Regions from separate parts of the Homo sapiens genome. Here all the other regions are linked to region 2. Evidence: promoter capture Hi-C in 16 types of primary human blood cells and fetal thymus (Javierre and others, 2016). All regions are on one chromosome and are shown on one strand. The core of a region is centred on a gene start or on the middle of the fragment in contact, and the rest is flanking DNA. Distances in the headings are between cores, read along the strand shown.

The links. The method cuts DNA at HindIII sites, captures the fragments that hold promoters and counts their contacts. A CHiCAGO score of 5 or more calls a contact.
Region 1: a fragment that was not itself captured here is called in contact with the fragment with the promoter of RTL5 in region 2 in 17 of 17 cell types (neutrophils, naive B cells, activated CD4 T cells and 14 more); the score reaches 34.5 in neutrophils.
Region 3: a fragment that was not itself captured here is called in contact with the fragment with the promoter of RTL5 in region 2 in 8 of 17 cell types (neutrophils, monocytes, naive B cells and 5 more); the score reaches 8.0 in neutrophils.

The regions. Positions count from the first base shown.
Region 1 is chrX:71,997,327-72,000,843 of GRCh38, forward strand. All of the region lies in intron 1 of NHSL2 (NHS like 2), which reads left to right. Among named protein-coding and RNA genes, the nearest start is that of NHSL2, 88 kb to the left of the region's middle. RefSeq lists an enhancer at 1-46. The HindIII fragment of the contact is 6,669 bases long and covers 1-3,517 here.
Region 2 is chrX:72,130,650-72,133,917 of GRCh38, forward strand. RTL5 (retrotransposon Gag like 5) reads right to left here and starts at 1,266. Exons shown (of 1, transcript NM_001405151.1): 1 at 1-1,266. The coding sequence starts at 891. NHSL2 (NHS like 2) reads left to right here. Exons shown (of 8, transcript NM_001013627.3): 2 at 1,430-1,585. RefSeq lists silencers at 1,057-1,126, 1,287-1,346. The HindIII fragment of the contact is 11,603 bases long and covers 1-3,268 here.
Region 3 is chrX:71,980,676-71,984,348 of GRCh38, forward strand. The region is part of intron 1 of NHSL2 (NHS like 2); the gene reads left to right. Among named protein-coding and RNA genes, the nearest start is that of NHSL2, 72 kb to the left of the region's middle. The HindIII fragment of the contact is 1,696 bases long and covers 1,344-3,039 here.

The sequences.
Region 1 (3,517 bases), core at 570-3,069, 130 kb before region 2:
ATCTGCTAAGTCTGACAGTCTCCAGCAAGGGGCTGGGGAGTCACAGCACAGCTAGTGCTCTCCTGGCCCAAGATGTGCCAAAGGCCACCTCCAGGACCACTGCCCTCCACACGTCCTCTGAACTCCCTGGCCCAGTCTCTTTACTGCCCCCATAACACAATGTGCTTCTACCAAGAATGATAGGAATTCAAATTTATCGAAGTCTTTGAAAGTTTGCCAAGCACTTTCCCATAGCTCTCCAGGAGGCAGAATAGCCTACTGGTTAGGAACACAGGCTCAGGGCCCATACTGCCTGGCTCTGCCATTCCACTGCTGTGCGATCTTGGGTAAGTTACTTAGCCTCTGTGCCTCAGGTTCCTCATCTTTAAAATGGGAATAATCACAGGATCTACATCTTAAGGCTGTTTTCAGATTAAGTTGGCTAATGTTTAGGCTCCCTAAAAGCAGAGATTTTTGTCTTTTATTCATTGCCATGTCCCTAGGGCCTAAACAATCCCTGGCACCTGGCAGGTACTCAACAGATATTTATTAAATATATATAAAGGGCTTAGGATGGGAGCTGGCACTTAGCACAACAAGTGTTAGTTTTTGTTGTTATCTTTTGCATTCTCACAATAGTTCCAACAGGAGCATTCTGAATTTCATGCATGTTAGTGTTGCTCCTCCTTGTAAGGTTCAAGTTCTAAGTCAAGGTACTGAAGGAATATGCAACAGACTTAAAATGGAGGGCAAAAGTTTGGGCCACAGAGGATTAGGAGTACAGCTGTCAAATATTAGTAAAAGCATTCGTTCATCCATTCATTCAGTCATCTATTCTACAAATATTTCACAAATACTCCTAAGGGCCAGGCCCTGAGCTGAGAGCTGGGGATGTATTGAAGACAAGATAGACAAGGGTTTCTACATTTGAGGAGCTTAACTTGTAATGGAAGGAGACTAGCAAAAACAAGTAAAGATCTAAAAAGCACTTATTAGCACTTATTCAGATAGCAATAAGTGTTATGAAGAAAATCAAGTAGTATAATGGGATAGAGAATGGCTGGGGTTGTGTATGTGTTGGGGTTGCTTTAGTTTATGGTCAGAGAAGGCATCTGAGGTAGGAACACTGGCACTTTTCTGGGGCGTCTTGGTCTCAGGTCAAGGACCTCTGTTGAGAGTTGGCCTGTGACACCATATCATCACCACCTCATCCTTCTGCCTAAGGCAGGGGTAAGCTGCTCAGTGTAGTTCTGGGGATCTTTACGTGGAGGTTTAGTGTGAAGGGCTGGAGAGAAGGGGGCTATGAACATGTGGCGCCTGCATAGGAAGGTTCTGGCATTAGTTGTCCTCTGGCAAAACCTATTGGTTGCTCTAGGTTAAACGATGGTCAGTGGCCTTTCAGCTCCCCCTTCATCTTTCTGCACTCTCAGGGAGGAGGTGTCTGGCCGTGGGGTCCTCTCCACTGCTGATCTATACTCAATGCCCTCATGCCCCATGCTCATTCATGACACCACCTTCACACATGCAAACACTGCCTCATCTTTCAAGATAGCTCAGACACCATCACCAGTCACACTGGAGGGCCCTTATTCATTACCTGTTTGAGCATCTCCAGAGCATAGTATGGAATGGATACCTAATAGGTGCTTAATAAATGAAGGAATAAATGAGTGACTGTTGTTCCTTCTGCTTCCTCAGCTGACTGGCTCATTCCCACTCATGCATCAAGACTCAGCTCACACATCATCTTACATGAGAAGCCTCCCTCAACCTCCTTGTGTCTGACCTGGGGAGCTCTTGTTCATCCTTGATGTTCCCCTTGACTTCCTCAGCCAGAATTTGGCCCTCCCACCTCTGAATGCTCCACCACATTCTATTACCCTCTATCGTATCCATCGCTCTACAGGCACTGTCTGCTACTGTCCTGTCACCTCCCCTAATCTCTGATTTTCTCAGGCAAGGACTGTGTTTTGGTCATCTCTATATCCCCAGCACTAGCCCCTAGAGGGCGCTCAATAAATATTTGTGAAATTAATGGGGAAAAAACCGTGAATGAATTGTTTGTCAATTTTGCTTAGAGTGGTGTGCTGGGGCTGGCTTGTAGTGGTTTGCGAGAATCAATTGTTAAATATTTAGGAAACGTATGAGCCAGTTGTTAAATACAGCCATCATTAAAAATTAAATTATATGAGAAAACAGAAGACAAACTGAAATTGAGAGACATTCTACAAAATAAATGACCAACTAAATACAATATGGGTCCTGGATTGGATCCTAGAATGGAAGAAAGACTTCAGTAGAAAAGCTGGTGAACTCCAAATAAGTTTGTACTTTAGTTAATGTTGTACTAAGTTTAATTTCTCAGTTTTGATCAATGTTTTATAATTATGTAAGATGTCAACATAAGGGGAAGCTGGGTAAAGGGTACACAGAAACTCTCTGTACTGTTTTTACAACTCTTCTATAAGTCTAAAATTATTTCAACATTTAAAAAAAAATTGTCAAGTTCCAATACTTCTTGGTTGTTTCACTTTCTTCTTACTCATTAACATAAATGAAAATATCAACCATCATTCATTTAGGAACTGCACTTGCTCTTCTGTTATGGCCGAAGTTTGGCTATTGATATGTGTTCAGCAAAAATCAATGAAAGCATTATGGGAGAATCCATTGGTTATATGGAATTTATAATAAAGAGTATTATATATTTCAGTATTATCTGTAAATTGAGCACTTCACATTCTTATATAAGTAAATTTATAATAAACCTATGTATGTATGTGTATATTTATATATACGTTTGTGCATTTTTTTTGAGAGCTGGTTGCTGAACACTTACCAGAACACCACCGGTCCTACATATGAATTATGATCTCATCAAACACATTGAAGGAAAGAAAAGAACATTGCCCAGCACCTTCTCTGTGCGAGGCTGTACTATCCCTTTGTGTTCATCATTACAGGTGCTCTTTACCTCAACTCTATGAAGTGAGGGTATTGTGGTCTCCATTTTACAGATAAGGATATTAAGGCTAAGAGAGGTTAAATGACTAGACTAAGGTCAAGTATTGGTATACAGTGAGCCAGCATTAAACTACATTCATCTGAGTCCAAAGCCAATTGTATTAGTATCATATTGCTGCTGTAACACATTACCGCAAATTCAGTGGCTTAAAACAACACAAATTTATTATCTTACAGTTCTGGAGGGCAGACGTCTGAGATTGGTCTCACTGGACTAAAATCAAGATGCTAGCAGGGCTGCATTCCTTCTTAGGACTCTACGGGACAATCCTTTTCCTTGCCTTTTCCAGCGTGTAGTGGCTGCCTGCATTCCTTGACTTCAAAACCAAAAGTGGCCATTCGAGTCTTTCTCACATCCCATCACCCTGATTCTGCTTCTATACATCTCCTTCTCTGACTCTGACTCTCCAGCCTCCCGCTTTCACTTTATAAAAACCCTCATGATTACATTGAGCCCACCCAGATGAGATGGGCAGCTTCTCCCCATTTCAGTCAATGTCAGCTGATAAGTAAC
Region 2 (3,268 bases), core at 16-2,515:
CAGGTCGGCCATTTCTGTTGACCATAAGAGCTCTTTGCGGAAGAATTCCGACAGGCCTTTGAGGAATTGGTTTTGGAGGCGGCAGTCATCCCAAGACAAGAATTGGGCCAGGAACTGAAAAGCATCTGCATAGCTGCCGAGGGTACAGTGGCCCTGCTTGAGCTTGCGAATGGCCTTTTTAGCCACACGTGGGGGGATGGGGCCACAGAATTCCTTACGGATTTCATCCAGGAAGCGCGGGAAGTTGGCATGCAAGGGGCTTCCTTCCTGGGTGACCGAGATGGCCCAGTCCTTGGCTTCGCCAGTGAAAAAGGAGATCAGAAAGGCCACCCGCTCGGCGCCCCCGGGGAAATGAACCTCATGGTCGGCTATGAAGGTCTCTAGCTGCATCAGGAATTCAGCCAGGTAGACTGGGTCTCCTGAAAAGGGCTCTATCTCAGGCCGCTCCAGCGGTGCCAGAGGGGGTTGCGGGGGCGGTTCCTTTGACGCGGGCGGAGGCAGCGCCGGCGGGGGCGGGATGGGCAGCAGAGGGGGGTCAGCGGGCCCGTCGGGGGTGCTGCGATCCTGGATCACGTTAATCAAAAGATCATCCGAGATACAGTCGGGCTCCGCGCGTGGGGGAGGCCGGCACAAGAAGGGCAGTTCTCCCCCGGGAATGACTTCGATCTCACTGAGCGCGAACTCCAAGTTCTCCTCCGCAAGGACGGGCACTATGGGTACTGGCCAGCGGATGTAGCTGGAGACATTGCCCCGCAAGGAATTAACCTCGGCCAGGGCTCTCCCGAGCTGGAGGCCCAAATTGGCATTCTCCCCGCGAAGGGCATTTAATTCTTCGCGCAGGGCCACATTCGCCATGCGGAGGCTGTTGAGATTTCCTGACGCCTCAGACATCTCGACAAGCCCAGGGGCCCTGGGGCTCCGTGGTGGGGAAAGGGGAACTGGAACTACGGGCGGCCGGAGGAGGCCGAAATGCGGCGGCGGGGCTCGGGAGGGACCGAAGTGCGGCAGCGGGGCACGGGCCAGGCCGGGCCACACCCACCGGGGCGAGCTCGGAGGGCGGCGCTCTGGGCGGAGGGCCCGGCGGCTCGGCCCAGGGCGCGTTACCTCGTCGCCGGGGCCGGAGAGGGCGGGCGGAGGCACGGGGCCCGGAGGCGCCAGGCGGAGGATGCGGGCGACACGGTGGCGGCGGCGACCGCGCGACCGGGCGGGCGGGCGGGCAGGGGCGAGCGGAGCGGGAGGGAGCGGACTGCGGCAGGATCTGTCGAGGAAAAATCTTGCGGCCGGCGATTCCCCGCCTTTTAAGCGCAGCCTCGCACTCCCCCCACCCCACGCAGGGGCGGGCCTTGGGGAACCGCGGGCGCCCACTGGCCGCCGCGCGCCGCTCCCCTCCAGCTCGCCTGCGCCTCTCACTGACTCTCTCCTTCCCTAGCTGCAGCTAACTCGGGTCGGGAAAATGCGACAGCGACTGCCCACTCGAGGTCGTCATGGCGACAGCCAGTGAACGTGTTCCTCTCCTCGGGCAGGCCCCCGAGTGTAGAGGAGCTGCTTCGGGAGGCGCAGCTCAATCTCCAGAGCCTGTTGCAAGGTACCGAGAGGGAGGGGGGCTGCGGCCGGAGCCCAGAAGCGAGATGCGCAGCGGCAGGAGGGAGGCAAAGAAGAAAGAGGACAGGGACCAGCAAGATAAAGACAGAGAGTTTAAAAACAATCGACAAAGCAGTTTCCAGCTTTCACCTTTCAGCCTAATGATTCTGAAAGAGGCTATTTCCAGGGCTGTTTCCCCCCATCCCCAGCCCCTTTTTTCAGCTCAGTAGCCCATGGGGAAACAAGGACAGAGACTGAGGCAGGGCCATAAGTTATGCCATTCACCGAGAGCTGGGTGGGAGACTCCCACAATGTGGGCCTACATTCCCTCCAGCCCCCCTCTTGCCACATCGCCCATGCCTTTGGGATCCTGGCACCAGAAGACAAAGGGGGCATCTGCAGGATCTCCCACTCTGGGCTTCACTCACTCTGCTCTTGCAATAACCCCTGGATAGCTACTGCCTCACCAAAGTAAGCCCAATACACAGCACCCAGAGGTCACCTATTTTGTCCCCCCTAACCAAGCCTGAGCTTCTCGATGTAAAGAATCACATCTTGCTACCCTTAGGTTTCCAGAAGCACCTGGCACAAGGCTGGATTCCCTCCCCACCTGCCAAGAGGTGCTCAGTGGATGTTGAGCATGAAAAGAGGTCTTGTCAGCACTCCTTTATCTATACTAATAAAGGTTAACTCTAATGGCGAATAGAAAACTGCTGATGGGCCACCAACAGGATGACAGCCATAACCCCCACCCCCTACCAGGGCAGTGGTGACCTTGGAAAAGCAAGATGCCAAGGGACACCATGAGCCTTGTGTTCAGATAACAAAGGACTTGCCACACAGAAAAAGAGTCGATGTGCTCTGTGTTGCTACCATGGCAGAATTAGGACCAGTGGGTGGAAACCCAGAAGGAGGCACATTCCACCTCCAGATAAGGAAGAACTTTCTGACACACCTGACAGCCCCAACTGTCCGTGGAAGAAATGAGCTGCCTTGGGAGGGAGGGAGCTCCCCTTCCCTGCAGGTGTGTGCGCTGAGGCTGAAGAAACACCTAGAAGGGCTGCTGAGGAGGGAGTCTGGGCACAGAATGAGGCGTTGGACCAAAGAACCCCAAGAGCAACCCCAAATCTCTGTGATTCTGAGTCTTTGTTCAGTGTACATACAGCATGAATGTCCCTTCTCTACTCTCACTTTCTTCATGTATTCTCATCAAATTCATCACTTCAATCAACCCTATTCAAATCTTGTGCATCCTTACTCACTGATGATGCCGCTGAACTTCTGCCTCTTTTATGCTGTTACCTCCTCCTTCCCTCTCCTTCACCTTAGCCCTCCTAGACCTGACATCACTTACAGCGGGACTAAGGTGCAGGGAACACGGCCCACAAAGGCTCAAGTAAAAGTTCTTGACATCCAAGAAAGAACTCCAGATTGGACTTCCTGGTGTAAATCTCTTCTTGCTTCACACAGGTCATTTCCTTGGTAGGGTCGCAGAAAACCTTAAGAGCTGCAGGGCTTCAAAGAGAGGAACTTGCAGTCCAAAGTAGCAAAAGGTGTCTGCATTCTGAGCCTCTTTTCGTAACTGAGCACTCAAGGTGGGGATCATTGAGATAAGGGCTTGGTCCCCAAACCACCACAGCATGAATTTATTGACTTTCTCTTCTCCTCGATCCTCATGGTCCTGGGA
Region 3 (3,673 bases), core at 942-3,441, 150 kb before region 2:
TCCAGTGCAGCACTGTGAGTCTGGGCTTTGGAGACAGATGGGCCTGATGCAAATCCTAGCTCTGCTTCTTGTCAGTTGGGCAATGTGGGACAAGTTAATCTGTCTTACTTTGATCAGCTATAAAAGGAGGATAGTAGAAAGATATACCGTGAAGAGTTACTGCAAAAATAAGAGGTAGCATATGTGAGTGCCTGATAGAGACCTAATCAATGATTTTTGTAATTATTATTTTCCCTAGACCCAATTCTCAACTAGGGTGTTGCCCCTTGAAATTAAAAAGGAGAATCTACATGCAAAAATGAATAATTTGGACTCCTAACCTTATATCATGTACAAAAGTTAGCTCAAAGTGGATCAACGACATAACTGTAAGAGCTCAAGCTGTAAAACCGTTAGAAGACAGTGTAGTTGTATATCTTTGTAACCTTGAATCAGGCAATGGTTTCTTAGATATAACACCAAAGGCACAAAAGACAAAAGAAAAACTAGGTAAATTGAACTTTATGAAAAGTAAAAAACTTTGTGCTTCAGAGGTTACCAAGAAAGGGAAAAGACAGCCCAAAGAATGGACAAAAGTTTTGTAAATCTTATGGCCAGGTACAGTGGCTCACGCCAGTAATCCCAGCACTTTGGGCCAAGGCGGGTGGATCACTTGAGGTCAGGAGTTCAAGACCAACATGGCAAACATGGCGAAACCCCATCTCTTTTTAAAATACGAAAATTAGCTGAGTGTGTTGGCACACACCTGTAGTCCCAGCTACTCAGGAGGCTGAGGCACAAGAATTGTTTGAACCCAGGTTGCAGTGAGCAGAGATCGTGCCACTGCACTCCAACCTGGGCAACAGAGCAAGACTCTGTCTCAAAAAAAAAAAAAAAAAAGAAGGTTTGCAAATCATATATCTAGTAAAGAACTTGTATCCAGAATATATAAAGAACTCTTAAAACTCAACAATAAAAAGACAAACAACTCAATTTAAAAATGAACAAAGATCTGAATAGACAGTTCTCCAAAGAAGATATACAAATGGCCAACAAGTACATGAAAAGATGTTCAACATCATTATCCATGAGGGAAATTTAAATCAAACCACATGAGATCCCACTTCCCACCCAATAGATTTGTTGTAATCAAACATACAAATAATAAGTGTTGACAAGGATGTGGAGTGACTGGAAATCTCAAATACCACTGGTAGGAACATAAAATGGTGCAGCCTCTATGGAAAACAGTACAGCAGTTACACAAAAGGTTAAACATATGACCCAGGTTACCGTATGACCCAGTAATTCCACTCTTAGGTACATACTCAAGAGAAATAAAAGCATATGTCCCCATAAAAAAAAGCTTGTACATAAATGTTCATAGGAGCATTATTTGTAATAGCCAAAAGATGGAAACAACCCAAATGTCCTTCAATGTGTGAGTGGATAAACAGTTGTGGTATATTCATATGATGGAACCAGTCATAAAAATGAATGAAGTACTGATATATGCTACAACATGGATGAACCTTGAAAACACTAGGCTAAGCAAAAGAAGCCAGACACAAAGCCCATATACTGTATGATTCCATTTCTATAAAATGCCCAGATTAGGCAAATCCATAAAGACAGAAAATAGACTAGTTGTTGCCAGGGGCTGGAGTGGGGAGGATAATAGAGAGCTAATAAGTTAGGGTTTCTTTTGGGGGGTGTGATGTTATGAAATATATATTTGGTCTTTGTCTCCATTTCCTGGCATACAACTCCGAAAATCCTTGGAGTCTCCAAAGTGATGTCTTTTTGTATGCCTATGAGTTGACTGATGGTTGGGTAGCCCAAGAATAGGGACTGGTCACTGGAAAGACCAAGGCATGAATAGAGGGTTGGGACTTTCAGCCCAACCTCCAGGGACGGGAGAGGGGCTGAAGGTGAAGTTGATCACCAATGGCCAATCATTTAAACAATCATGCTTACATAATGAAGCCTCCACAAAAACTCAAAAGAACAGGGTCCAGTGAGCTTCTGGATAGCTGAACACGTGAAGATTCATGGAGGGTGGCCTACCCAAGTAGAACATGGAAGTTCTGTGCCCCTTCCCACATACCTTCCTTGCTTGATGCATCTCTTCATCTGTATCATTTTTTATGTCCTTTATTATAGACCAGTAAATGTCAGTAAGTGCTTCCCTGAGTTCTGTGAGCTGCTTTAGCAAATTAATAGAAGAAAAGAGGGGGTAATGGGAACTCCAATTTGAAGCTGGTTGTCCAGAAGTTCCAGAGGCTAGAACTTGCAACTGGTGTGTGAAGAAGGGGGGACGCAGTCTTGGGGACTGAGCCTTCAACCTGTGGGATATGATGCTATCTTCAGGTAGATAGTATCAGAATTGAACTGGAAGACATCTGTGTCTACTGTAGAATTGATTGCTTATTTGGCGAATGGGGAGAGAAAATCCCACACATTTGGTTACAGAATTTTCTGTGTTGATTGTTGTTGTGGTGTGAGAACAGAGGAAAAACAGTTTGTTTTTCCACTATCACCGGGAAATGATCTAAAATTCACTATGATGATGGGTATACAACTCTGTGAATATACTAAAAAGCCATTGAATTGTCTGCTTTAATTGATTGAATTATATGCTACGCGAATTATATCTCAGTATAAATTTTGCTTGGTGCTATGTCTCACGCTGGTAATCCCAGCACTTTGGGAGGCCGAAGTGGGAGGATTGCTTGAGCCCAGGACTTCAAGACCAGCCTGGGCAACATAGTGAGACCCCACCTCTACAAAAAAAAAAAAAATTAAAATTAGCCAAGCCTGGTGGCACACACCTGAAGTTCCAGCTACTCTGGAGGCTGAGGTGTGGAGATTACTCTAGCCCAGGAGCTTGAGGGTGCAGTGAGCCATGATCACGCCACTGTTCTGTAGCCTAGGCAACAGAGTGAGACCCTGTCTCTAAAAAAAAAATAAAACTGTTAAAGGAAAAAAAAGGAATGAGAAAGGAACTACCCAGAGCCACCACAGTGGACTTGAAAAAGTTATGGTTATTTCTTGATGATAAGCTTAACAAGGGGTGGATTATTCATGCCTCCCCTTTTTAGACCTTATAGGGTAACTTCCTGATGTTGCCATGGCATTTGTAAACTGTCATGGTGCTGGTGGGAATGTAGCAGTGAGGATGACCGGAGGTCACTCTCATCGCCATCTTGGTTTTGGTGGGTTTTAGCCAGCTTCTTTACTACAGCCTGTTTTATCAGCAAGGGCTTTATGACCTGTATCTTGTGCCGACCCCCTATCTCATGCTGTGACTAAGAAGGCCTAACTTACTGGGACCGCAGCCCAGCAGGTCTCATCCTTATTTTACCCAGCCCCTATTCAAGATGGAGTTGCTGTGGTTCAAACACCTCTGACATTTCCCCCCTCACTTTTATAAGAGAACCCTTAATCCTAAGGGTTGCAGAGGGACAAAGATCCATCTTCTAATGAATAGCGGTGATGATATTCCTGTCTAACTATTAGATCTCTTGCAATCAGGGTAGAGAGGAGCTCAGTCAGAAAGCATTGGTATGTCATGGGCCATTCACAATTCTGAGTTCTGACAAAAGGTGATATCTTGAAGATTAATAAGTATTCAATGTAAGAAAACATTCGGTAAGCTTATCCTGCATTCCTACACAAAGAGTACAACAGCAAT